Linked DNA regions of Homo sapiens: region 1 is linked to region 2. Evidence: promoter capture Hi-C in 16 types of primary human blood cells and fetal thymus (Javierre and others, 2016). All regions are on one chromosome and are shown on one strand. Each heading gives the region's core, a stretch centred on a gene start or on the middle of the fragment in contact. The rest is flanking DNA. Distances are from core to core; before and after follow the strand shown. Region 1 holds the start of VPS50 (VPS50 subunit of EARP/GARPII complex). Region 2 holds the start of TP53TG1 (TP53 target 1).

Region 1 (6,502 bases), core at 950-3,449, 5.9 Mb before region 2:
CTCATAGATTCAGGAACTGTGCATCAGTATCAAATATGTGAAAGTCAAGCCATAACATATATAATTAGGATAACTTTAAATATGTATGCAAAACTCCTAATTTTACCTCACTTTGTACACAGTATGGTTCCAGCTTTTTGTATGTGTTCTTTAATGTATTTTTTTCCATTTCAATTAAACACAGGTTTGACCTGCTGAAATTCAATAAGCAACTGACTAAGGCTTAAGTGTTACCATTTTCAGCACAATTGCATTACATTTAGGAGACATACACTTATCACTGCTATCTGAAATTTTTTTCTCTCCTCAGTTTTACAAAATGAGGTCAAAAAAACTAAACCAACCACAGCTACCATACAATTATGACAACGTTAACTACACTGAACTGTATGGCAGGCAACAAACTTGAGACAGCATCAAACAGCTGATGCACAAAAGTCCAAATTCAGCATTCCAAAGGCAGTTTAGAGGTATTAGTGATATAAAGTACAAAAGTATATATTGATTTAAAAATCAAACAGGTACCGAAGTCAGCATGAACTTATCTATTGCTTGAATTACTGCAACAGCCTGCTTCCAATTTTCCTGCTTTCCCACCATCAACATAGCCAATGTAACTAACGGTCTCTGCGTTCAAGCACTTCCTTGATAATGCCCAGGAACTCCGTTAACGCCTTAAACTCTTTAACTTCATTATATCATGTAAACACCACTATCAGGCTAACTCCATAAGGCACACATTATTCCTATTTTAAAGATGTGGAAATAGATGCTTAAAAACGTTATGTAACTTGCCGAAAGTCACACAGCTGCCACAGGATACAGCAGGACCCAAACTCATCGTCAAGTAAGAAGTAGTAGGACGCACAACACCAGTACTCAACACATGTGAGGAATTAACAAATGTTACTAGCCACTTACTTAAATATTTTTATTATTCACAGAACATTTTGATTATATTTTCATAACATTAACAAAATGCTCTGACATAACTAAAATAATCATGTAAGGGTCATTTGTGCATTGTGCAAGAGAAATACACAATTTGTATCCTGTTTATATATCTCTCAAATTGTGAATTCTCAAATAAGAATGTGGAATTTGAGTTATTTTTGTAATCAACAAGAAAAAAACTCACAAATATACCTTTCACTAAACGATTACCTTCCACATTCTCCAAACTTCTAAAAGCCATGTTGATTTAAAACTCTAATCTTAACTATCTTTCATATTAAAATAATAAAATGACCAATTCTAGTGAAATATTAAAGCTGAAGTAAATAAAGGCAGCTAAAACAAAGTCATAATCAATAAGTACATAAAAGAAAATTTCTGCACTTCTTAAATGAAGCTGAGGCATTATTACGAGGTCCCTAACATTTATGAGACAGGTTACAAAATAGCCAAAGCTCTTATTCATGAATTTCCATTCTGGGGAAAAAAAAGAAAAGATCAGTATTTTGCCATGACAAAAATAAATTTTTTAAAGCAGAATTTCACAAAGAGTTTTCACATATATTAGCTTATCGATGACCCTCATAACAGAACTGTGAAGTAAAATGAACAAAAATAATTATTTTCACATCCAGAAACGTAAGCTACAAAGTTTGGGGACTTGCCCAAAATCCAAAAGCTACTAATTCTGTCTTCAAATCATCCGTTTTCAGTCTTTCCAGGTCACCTCTACTGCACAGACCACACCACCCTACCCAGGCTATCAGCTCGCATATGACAGACAGCCTGGATGCGGAAGACCTTGCAAGGAAGCTCGGGCTGTTCTGGAAAGACGGCAAAAAGAGGAGGAGGGGAGACAAAGATACCCTGATTCCTTCAATGACTTATTTTTAAACGAATATTTCTGGGAGGCTGGTACCCGCTGGAGCAGTGCTCCAACCCAGGCGGCCCAGGTGAGTTTTCTAGGGTATGCCCCGGCTTCCCAGTCCCCCTGACACCTGCCACCACCCATAACTTAGATCCCCGCCCGCCACTGGTTGGGGACAGAACATCTCGGCTCCTCTCACTTCCGAGATGAAGGAAGCCTTTGCTTCAGCCGCCGCGACTTACCTGTCGGGTCATGAGAGATTTGATTTTTTGCATATCGAAATCCTGAGGAGGGTACCCTGCCTCAAAGAGCTAACAAATCACACCGAGCCACTACACAGCTGGCCCTGACACTAGGAAGCCATAGTGGGTGGTCACGTGGAGGAGCCGACCCAGGGTATCCTGTCTTTCCCTGGGCCTGCTGGGAACTGTAGTCTTCTGGACGCCGGCGGTAGCAACGATGAACTAAAGTGGCCAACCCAGGGACTACATCTCCCAGCAAGCAAAAGAGCGGGTGCTTCAGTTAAGCCGGTAAATATTACTGCTCAGAGCGACCACTGCGATCGCCGGTCTTACAAAGGTGCTTGCACTAGGCAGTAGCTACTCTTCGGCGAGACGGAAACCTAAGTCACAGGTGACTAGGCGTTGAGCGAAAGATCAAACTCAGAGGAGACAATATATAAGCCAGATTGACGCGATGTCCCCTAGGAGTGTGAGGGAGGAAACCTCACCTGGTCTAGAGGGGCGGGGTGGGAGAACGAGAGACTGACGCGAAGGAGAAGGAACTCAAGAAAGGGCTGTCACTGAGGGGTAACCTGAGAACTCGAGACTACCCCGGGCGCGCTGGGTTTGGCCTGAGGAAAGGTGTGCTCTAGGTTGCCCAATAGGCGGCCCTCCAGGTTTAGGGCTGTTCTACCTCAGTCTTGGTATCCCCTGCAAAAGCTCTAAAATCGAAGGATTTTGACGCCCGCCTATTATTTTACCTCCGTACTCTAAAGCAGTGATGACGGGAAATACGACAATAACGAGTATACCTGTCACTTTAAAGTCCTCTTTTCAACTTTTGGCAGTTTAGTTAAATTGGGGAAAGGAACAGAAGTGTCTTTGGGGACACAATTTTAAAAGGACTTTACAATTATGAGAATATGAGAAGAAGAAGAAAAAGCAGCCCTAAAGCTAACAATGATAGCTAACACTTATCGAAAGCCGAGTACCTGTCAGGAACTGCTAATAGCTTTAAATATATGATTTCATTTATCCACACAAGAATCCTGTGGGTTCCCATTTTAAAGATGACGAAGCAGGTATGGCGAAATTAAGGAACTTGCCTAAGATTACTGCAGATGTGCAAGTAGAAACTGAAGGATTAATCGGTCATCAGATGTGTTAAGATTTTCATGTATTGTGCTGAAGAAAGTTCTAAAGCATGGCACCAATTTTTTTAAGTTTATTTTATTATAATGTTAACTTCTAAAAGTATGACACAGACCCATAATTTCAAAAATATTTCTTAGAATAAAAAAAGTTCAAGTGTGTCAACGTAATAAAAAATACTAGGTAAACAATAGTATGGGTGGTAGTCAGATATGGCAAAACTAATAAAGGTGATTTGCAAATGACTGAAGTTTGGGGGACACTAACAGAGGTTATTTCTGATTCTGAAATTCTATTTTCTCACCCCTTAGAGCCTCGTTTTATTAATTTTTACAAATGAGGTTGTAATATTTTAATATTTTATATAGGGCTTTGTAAGGATAAGTGAGATGATGTAGGTGAATGAAATGTATAAATTGTAAAGCACTATACAATTATGAGGTATTATTGGTTTTGATTCTGCCCAGTTCTCTACTCCAACAGAACCACCTTGTGCATACTTGTATCATCACTGCGTTCAGCAATTCCTTTGAAATTATATGTTTACCTATATGCTTCTCTGACTCTGTTATTTCTAACCCCTTCAAGAAATTCTGGTCACATTTAGGGCAAGTCTAGTTTAGTTTATTCTTTACCTTCTCTAATCTTAATTGTCAGACTGTTCTTTGTGTGTGAAAATCTGCAATATTTAGAAGTCCCTGAAAGCATCAAAAGAAACAAAAACTGCCAGCCATATTAGCCTATAAAATAAAACCCAAGTCAATAAACATTTCTTGATTGTTGCGCTCAAGGCAACACTAAAATAAGCACTTTGATTAATAATCTATGGTTGTGGTCACAAGGAGTTCACAACTGGGTTTAAAAGCATATCTTAGGGGTGATCTGAGTTCAGTAGATCTCAAACCTGACTGTTCAGATTCACCTGAGGTGTGTGCTGTTATTATTGTTGTTTTCTTTGGGGATGTTTGTTTGTTTAAAATCTTCAGTGATTCTTAAAGGCAGTCCAGCTCTAGCATGTCAAATCCATGCTGTAAAGATGAGAAAACGTATCTGTATAAGGGTTCGAGACCACATATTTCATGAGAGCTTGATCTAGGACTAGAACCCAGATTCAACCCCGGAATTTTCTCCCTCACATACTCAAATACACAAAGTTAAAGATGATCCCCCCAAAAAGTTTTTTTTATCTAATATGTGTATTTCTATTGGCCAAATTCAGAAAAATGAGTGTTATCCCTATCTATTCGACACTGAAAACGCAAGAAAGTATTGAAACTTTGTTTTACTCCAAAACTCTACATTTTAGTTTATTTCCTACAAACTGGAGAAATGGATAAAAATGGATACAGTCTTCTAAATGTTTTAAGGCTATAACTATAATATTGAAAGCTTGTAAAGTAAATCAGCGCTGGTGTCTAAATAAACTATATTTTCTAATTCAGCATACCTTAACACTATATGAAATAATTGAACCTTACGTTATTCATTTCTATCTGTCTACGCTCAAAAAAACAAAAAACTTGGCATCCTAACAAACACTTTTTAAAAGGTTGGACATGCTGCTATTTCCTTTCCAATTTTCAAAAAGGTATTTATTTTTAAGATTTATTCAGGACTTTCACATTTACCTGAGAGCTGTTGTTAGTGATAGTCCAGTGCAAAATAATGGAAAGTTTAGATGGTCTGCCACCAAATCCTGGGGAAGGTTGGCTGGATACCAATTCCTTGGTAAAGGAGTGCAGAGCCAAGAGTTAAGTAAATTGATCTGATTCAGAACAATAGGATTAGTAGTAAAGTAGGATAAGGGCATATTACTAATGGCCCAAAACAGGAGGAATGTCTGGAAGCTTAAATAAAAGCTGAGATCCTGGTTTGATTAGAAAGATAAAATTTCTTACCACTCCACAAATACCAAAGCAGTGGAGAGATGCAGCCCCTCCAAGATGATATGACTACACTTCTTGAGCAGGCCATAACAGAAAACAGAACACTTGCCAAAGGTAAAGTAGTGACCTAAAGAGGTGCCCAGGAAGAAGACATTACTGCTTAGTATTTAGCAGCCATATAAGATAGATCAAGGCTTCCACGAGGCAGCTTTGTAGACTTTACAGAAGTGAACACTAGCACAGGCATAGGCATATGTGATAGCCTCCTCTGGCAGCTAACTCTCCCTGTAAACTGGAGAGAATCCACTAATTACAACAATAAGAAACATTTCTTTCCCCAGTTCTTATTCCCCACTGTTCTGCATCTACATTGACCTTGGCATTTCACCACCTCTCCTTAATTGTTTCTGCCACTGCAAAACATGCGTGTGCTAGCTACTTGTGATTAAAAATGTGGATGTTTGAAATGCATGCAGCAGACATTTACTGTATGAAGTAATACCAGTCTGCAATTTAAATAAACTAGATTGTAAACTGTGTAGTGTGATTTGAGAGGTAATAAAAATCCCTGCCCCCAACAAACATACACACACATACACACACACACACACACACACACCCTCCTGCACAGGAGTATATGTGTCCATATCCCATTGTAAATGCACGTGGACACACACACGCATACTCTATCCCAGTGGCTCCTTACATTGCTTGCAGTTTAATCACCGTGGATATAGATTGTTTTAGGTTAATCAGCCTTCTCATTTTAAATGCAAATATAACTAAGATTGGTAAACAGTAACACTACAGGCCCTTTTTTCCTGACTGGAATGATAACAGCAGAACTTCCCAGTGGGTTACAGGTGTGATGTGAGATATGGATGGTAGGAAAATTCTTATAATTATAAAACCTTCAAACTATTTTTAAGAATCATGTAAAAATTAACAATTGTTGAAGTTAAGCTTGAGCACTCTTTTTCTCACTTCCTGTGTAAACATGTTGAAATCAGAAGTTACTCCAGCAGGTAAGAGTTTATATCTACAGTTTACCACTAGAGGGCGCTTTGTCATGATTATCCCAGTAGCCCTTTCCCTAGATGTGCCGTATTATATTTCAATATGTGCCATGAAATAAAAAGATTACAAGTAAGATTCATATGGCATTTATTTTTTAATGTAGCATCTACTATCACCTTATGTCATGAAACAGGGAATATTTTCAAATACAACAAAGAAAATCTCAGAATAAAAAACTCCTTTATATTGAGTATATTTAACACTAGGGAAAAACACAGTACATTGTCTTTATTTCTCTTTTTGCCAGGGACCCAACAAACTTCATTATAATCCAGCACTAGATTGAAAAACACTGAAAACAGCTAATTTGATAACGGCAATTGGAGATTAATATCAATCTAAAA
Region 2 (6,741 bases), core at 2,095-4,594:
CAGTGGGACTGGTATAATTAGTTACCATTTATTGAACACCTAGCATTTGCCAGGTACTCCAGTTTGCATTACAGAAAACATGTGTTAGCTCTCTAACTTTTATGTTATCTCTGAAAGGTGGCATTCTTTGCAATTTTACATATGAATATATCAAAACTCAGAAATTTAGTAACTTACCTAATGTCAAACACAGGACCCAAACCCAGATCTGTTAAGACTACAATCTTTCCCCTATACAAAACAACATGATAGAAGGTAAGGGAACCTGCAGTAAATCTTAGTGGGTAGATAGTATTTGATGTATAGAAAAGGATTATGTGTTGATATTGCATTGATATAGAAAACTTTGGAGCACAAAGTACAAAGAGGTGTGGAAGTGTCCAACTGTAGAATTAAAGATTATTATAGAATACATAAATCATATGACAAGCTGCTTTAATTGCACAGGTCGTATGAGGTCTACACAGAATGGTCTCAAGTGTTCCAAAGCAATCTTGAACATATTGACACGTGTATTAATTGCTATCAAAGAAATCTAACTCAAAATGTGAATAAGGTATACAAATGCTAAATAAAAAATGAGGTTTCTCAAAGCCTTTGTAAATTATCATATATTAATTATATTAAATAATGTAATATATTAAATGTAATTATATGTTAAAATAGCAACTGAGAAATCAAAGAACGTTAATATTGAATTTGAACTTCCTATTCTCTCAAAAACTATTTTTTAAAACTGATAGCAACGCTAAACAAAGTATTCCACTCATAGGTTACAGAATCGAACACTATCAAAAACATGGACACAGAAGAGACTATTTTCAGCTAATACCTGTTTTCCTCTGCTTTAACAGAATCCTGAGTTGTAGCTGTGCATACAGCCCCCAGTTTTATCTTTCCTACCCTCTCTTGGAGCTCAGTGTGGCTTTGTGATGACCTTGTGTGTGTCACTTCCAGGTCATGCTCCCAAAAAGGAATGCATGTGTTCTCCCTGCACTTTCCCTCCTTTTTACTACCTGCTAGGTAGTGACGAACTAAACAGCACCATGGCCTCATTTATGGAAGTCATATATGCAGGATTGCAGAATCTCCCTACTAGTCCTGGACTCCTACCTCTAGATGTATGGAAAAAAAAAAACTTCTATTTTATTCATACCATTGTATTTTGGGCTTTCTATTGTAGGGAGAAGAGCTTAGCCTGTACCACTAATATAAAGAGATAATTTGAAAATGAGAAATAATAATTAACTCAAAGTTCTTTAGCTTCTTTCTATCTATTGACTTTGGCTGCACACCATTTTGACCATCCATAAAAATGGGTTTGTACCTAATGGAAATGTAGATCTGGATCCAAGTACAGACTCTGCCACTTTCTAGCCATGTGCCCCTAGGGCAACCAACTTTAAGTGAATTTCCTTATCTTAGAGTGGTTAATCATACAATTCAATAAAGTCAGAATTTGTTTTCAATGCCTGTGAAAGCACATTATAAAAACAAAATAATCCTGCCTGAAACCACCATATTGTGGTAGGCACAATTACTATGAATGGCCCCCAAGATTCCACCCCTGCTAATCCCCAGAACCTGCGAATATGGTGAGATCATTACTCCTGTGATTGTGATATTCTCTACAGAACTGACCTTAAAATAGGGATATTATCGAATTGGAACTAATCTAATCACTTGAGTCCATAAGAGCAAAGAGCTTTCTCTGGCCAGTGGCAGACAAGTAAGACTGCTTTAATGCTTGAGAAGGATTTGTGGTGTCTTTGAAGATGCAGATGGCCTTAAAGAACTGAAAGAGGCTCAGGCTGACAAACAGTAAGGATATAGAAATGTCAGTGTGAATTCTACCAACAATCTGAAATAGCCTGGAGGTGGATTCTCCCCTAGAGCCTCCAGAAAAGAATCCAAATCTACAGAAACCTTGGTTTCGGTTTTGTGAAATTCTAAGCCAAGTACTCAGCTAAGCCCACCCAAACTTCACATTTACAGAAGCTATGAGATAATACATTTGTGTTGTTTTAATTGTTGCATTTGTGTAATTGGTTAAGGCAGCAATAGAAGACTAGTACACACATACAGAGAAGATAAGCTATTCTGTTTACCTCTGTGCCACTTAATAGACTCTAGAAAACTGGAAGCAAGAGTATTAGTTACATACCCACTATAGTGCTTAACCCACCAACCGGTACACATTAAAAATATAAATTATTGGATTCTTTCTTGAAGAGTTTTCTTGAATTCTCAACCACAAAGATTAAGTTAAATAAGATGGTTCCAATAGCACTAAGAAAATGATTATGCTAGATTTAATTAGAATTGACTTTCTGGGGGCAATTAGATATGAATTCACAGAAAGTGGAAAAGAACCACGAACAATACGTGAAGGAATTGTCACATACCAGTACACCAAGAAGATGAACTGCTTGAGACTGCCAGGAGCCTGCTGCAACAATTGTTTTGAGATCACAGGGAACTGGACTAAGTCGGTGACTGTGGGAAGAAAGAAACAAGCTTAACAAATATTTAAGAGGGAAAAAGAAATGAACAAGCTAGTGAAAGAAGGTGGAATGCAGACAAACTAGGAGTTGGGAGTTCCCAAGACAAACTTTTCGTGAATCACTGCAAACACACGCAAATAGTCCACCTGCTAGAGAGCAGGAGTAAATGATCATACAATTAAGTAGGTTTCAGACAAGTACACCTTCCATTAGACGGGTTCAAAGGGTAGAGGATACGTTTTCAGTGGCTGGGTAACAGGTTCGTCGCAGAGTGGCAAGGGGTAGAAGCAGGAGCAGAGGGCAATGAGAGCTCGGAGGCTCTTCCCACCAACCCAAGAGCAACTCTGCACTCAAGAGGCCATCAAGTGAGAGAAATCTAAGCACTACAACGGAGCAGCCCCGCGGCCCAACCTTGAGGGTACCCCTGAGACCCCAGCAGGCGAGATGCTTGATGACACTACTCCCCCACCAAATCCAGGCACCTTTGCGGTTCTGCACGACTTAACTTTCCCCCGCCCCCGAGTTGAAGGATTAGGGGAGGGAGGGAATGCTGCTTCAACGGACCTGTCCGTCCTCACCGCCCGCGCCTCGCCGCCTCTGCCGCAGCCTCAGCCTGCAGCAGCACCGGCTCGCTCCCCCTTGGGCCTCAAAGGTGCGGGAATTGGACTGAAGGCCGCTAGGGTCCCGCCCCGCATTCGCCGGGGAACAGGATTGGATAGAAAGCCGCGAGGGTCCCGCCCCTCACTTTCCGGGGAACGGGACTGGACGGACAGCTGCAAGGGTCCCGCCCCGTGCCTGACGTCGGGGGCGAGCCGGGCCTGCGCGGTAGTGGGACCCGACCCTGTCTCCAGTGGGCGTCTTGGGCCCCGGCTCTATTCTGGGCTGCGGGCCTGGGAAGGGCTCGCCGGGTGCCAAATGAGCTGTCCTAACTCTGCGGGGCTGCAGCTTCCTGCATGATGCTGGGGAGCTTGGCGCCTGACCCAGGATCTAGAAGGCACTCTGGGCAGGCCGCGCTCCGCCCACGAAGGTACCCAACCCTCTGGGATAGATGCAGGAAGCGATGGTTAAGACCCATTTTCACCCAACTTCTCGCCGCAGGTCTGGCTTACCACACGCTCCTCCCCATTCCCAGTGAGCCGCTTTTTGCAGCACCAGGCGAACACTTACACCAGTGCTTTGTAAAGGAATCTTATTGTCCACCCCGTGTCTTGGCAAAAGAACAGTGATCACACAGATTCCTACTTGGGCTCTTTCCTTTAATCTTCGGAGGCTGAGTTTGCCCAACTCAGGTATGCCGCAGCACACTACATCATCTCGGGTCTCCTTGCTCTTCTGCAGCTCTTCATTGCTACCCAAGTTATTTGAATACCCCAGGGATGCTTACCCCCGGGCCTATCTGATGTCTTTTACTGTTGTGCCAAGAAATGGAATCTTTAACCAGAGTGGAGCTACCCAAGTTCTAGAAGATCATAATGTGATTGACTTAGTTTCACAGATTAATTCATTTTGCTTTTACCTTCTGAAATAAAATATACTGTTTCATTTTTAATTTTAAATACACTGTTTCATTTTTTTGTGGAAGGAAAGACCAAATGTTTACACTGACTCTGAACTAGTTATCAAAGATAAAGATTTAGATTTCAAATTAACATGTCATGACAGGCCCCATTCCTTTGTCTGTCGTTTCTAACTCCTTTAGCAGTAAAGTTTGACCTGAAGGGAAGTGAGGCTATGTGTAACTGAATGTTCCCTTTGTGTAAATATTCATAAGTTTTCTACAGAAATATTGTGTTTGATTACAGTACAGCTTGCTGGAAGTGTTTCATAATATATGGCAGACGTACTATTCTAAGAAAAGTTCTGAATTTTGAAACATATCTAGCCAAAAAGATTTTAAATAAGGGATTAGGAATTTGTAGTTGTAATTTCTGAAGGTGTGATAAAGAACTTTTTCTTTCATATATAAGTGCGATGCTCTGGATGATGTTAAAGTTTGCTTACAAGATAAAGTTTTTAAATTGAGTAACTAAAAACTACTCAGAAACCTTCGTTGTATTTTTTTTCTCCTTTTTAGTGAGTCTTGGCATCTCTTTAAAAGTTTATGCATGTTTAATGCCTGTTGGTGCATAGAATTTAGAACCATTTCGCTTCACTCTTTTTCCTACTCTTGTTGTTTATTTCAATGGAAACAAGATGTTTCTGTAAAGATTCCTGAATTATCGGATAGACAAAAAGGTGTGGGAGTGAAAAAATGAATGGAACACAGATTTGAGTATGTAGAAAAAAATCTTTTAAAATATGTTATACTGATAAGCATATGTACCCCAAATCACCAAAAACAGGTATTTTAAAATATGTTTGGCTTCAAAATGTGTGATATATATTTTAATGAAAGATTCCAAATTATGTTGCATTCAGGTTAAACTTGAACGAGTTTGCATTTCTTAGAGTGGAGCGGGAGATATTGGCTGGTAAGGAAGATGTTTTAGGCACTTGAAGTATTTGTGATAGCAAGAAGTTGTTCCAAGATTAAAAATTGACTATGAGTCAAAGTAACTTTTTGGAGGAAAATTTGTAAGTAGTACAAGTGGTGATAATTTTTTAAGTTGCCATTAAAAAAATCTTTTATTTTTGTTCTTCTGTAGTTCTTACTCAGCATACCACAAATTGCAAAAGACTTTATAGATAAGTCTAGATAAATTTCACCATTAAAAAGTATTAAAATGCTAGACTAAGAAGTTCATGTTTCAATCTGCATAACTGGCTTCCTGCTAAGATTTGTGACTCTAATAAGTAAGGAGATATGGTAAATAGCCCTAATCTATGGGAGACCTGTAACCTCCTTTCATTCTGATGTATAAAATGAACATGTTGAAGAAATAATTTTGTGATGTTTCTTCTTTTTAATGGGGGGGCAGTAGAAATATGGTCATTTTGGGAAGCAGCCAACAGCAAATTAAAGTACACTGGACGCAAAGAGGGCAATGTAGCATTAAAAATGAACTCCACTGCCAACAGCAGATGAACAGTGTTTGATACAAAAGGTCTCTTTTTAGTACTAATCATTGATTTGGGGTTGCTTTTGATGATATTTACAGTACATGAAAAGTTGCCACCAAAATCTGAGGGGAAGAGTTAAGATAACTATGATGTTTTTGCATCTCAGAAAAAAATACCTTCTTACTAAACAAAATATAACATTTAAAAATTTTGTTAACATCTTTGTTGAAATATAATTTACATACCATAAAGTTCGGCCATTTAAAGTCCACAAATCAATGGTTTTACTATATTCACAGGGTTATGCAGTCACCATAAGCTAATTTTAGAACATTTGGTTCAAATATTTAAAAAGATTATTTTCTACATACTCAAATCTCTGTTCCACTCATTTTTTTCAGTCCCACAACTTTTTCTATATCCAAAAATCCAGGCATCTTTACAGGAACATTTTGTTTCCATTGAAATAAATAACAAGACTGGGAAAAGAGTGAAGCAAAGTGGCTCTAAATTCTGTGTTACCAACAGGCATTAAACATGATTCATCAACTGACTGATGAATGTATGAACCACTTTTTGTTTGTCCATTCATCAGTTCATGGACATTTGGGTTGTTTCTACCTTTTGTCTATTTAAATAATGGTACTATAAACATTTGTGTACAAGCTTTGTGTGAACAGGCTTTCAATTAGTATTTTAGGAGTGGAGTTGTGGGGTCGTATGTTAACTCTATGTTTAACATTTTCAAAAACCGTCAAACTGATTTCCAAAGGAACTGTACCGTTTTTACATATCTGCCAGCAATATGAGTTTCAATTTCTCTGTGCCTTTAGTTACAATAACAATATAACAGCCCTTGCTATTGTCTTTTAAAAAAAATACAGCCACTCTAATGAATGTGAAGTGGTGTCTTGTGGTTTTGATTTACATTTTTTTGTGAAGACTAAGAGTGTTGAGTATTTTTTCATGTGCTTATTGGCCATTTATATATCCTCTTTGGAGAAATGTTTATTAAGATCCTTTTCCCATTTTTTAATTAATGCACACATTTTAAAATTATATTAAAATTAGGCAATGGTCTGACCATAAAAAGGCTGCTTATGGAATACTGTTATGTTAAACTTCACTTACAGGATGCTAAATCCTTAGAACTGAGGTTTTCCCCAGAAAAAGATTAATGGAAACATCAGTTGCTTTTCAGACTTGATTCTGCTTCAAAAGATGATTTTACACAAAT

The links. The method cuts DNA at HindIII sites, captures the fragments that hold promoters and counts their contacts. A CHiCAGO score of 5 or more calls a contact.
Region 1: a contact is called between the fragment with the promoter of VPS50 here and the fragment with the promoter of TP53TG1 in region 2, in 1 of 17 cell types (total CD4 T cells). The highest score is 5.7, in total CD4 T cells.

What each region holds. Positions count from the first base shown.
Region 1 is chr7:93,228,063-93,234,564 of GRCh38, reverse strand. It overlaps VPS50 (VPS50 subunit of EARP/GARPII complex), which reads right to left and starts at 2,199. Exons shown (of 28, transcript NM_017667.4): 1 at 2,065-2,199. The coding sequence starts at 2,097. It also overlaps a transcript of HEPACAM2 not described here. RefSeq lists enhancers at 1,679-1,738, 1,979-2,028, 2,119-2,288, 2,429-2,498. The HindIII fragment of the contact is 4,774 bases long and covers 1-4,586 here.
Region 2 is chr7:87,342,095-87,348,835 of GRCh38, reverse strand. TP53TG1 (TP53 target 1) reads left to right here and starts at 3,344. Exons shown (of 3, transcript NR_015381.1): 1 at 3,344-3,793. It overlaps CROT (carnitine O-octanoyltransferase), which reads right to left and starts at 3,172. Exons shown (of 18, transcript NM_021151.4): 1 at 3,069-3,172; 2 at 2,406-2,496. RefSeq lists a silencer at 3,147-3,356. The HindIII fragment of the contact is 3,653 bases long and covers 2,520-6,172 here.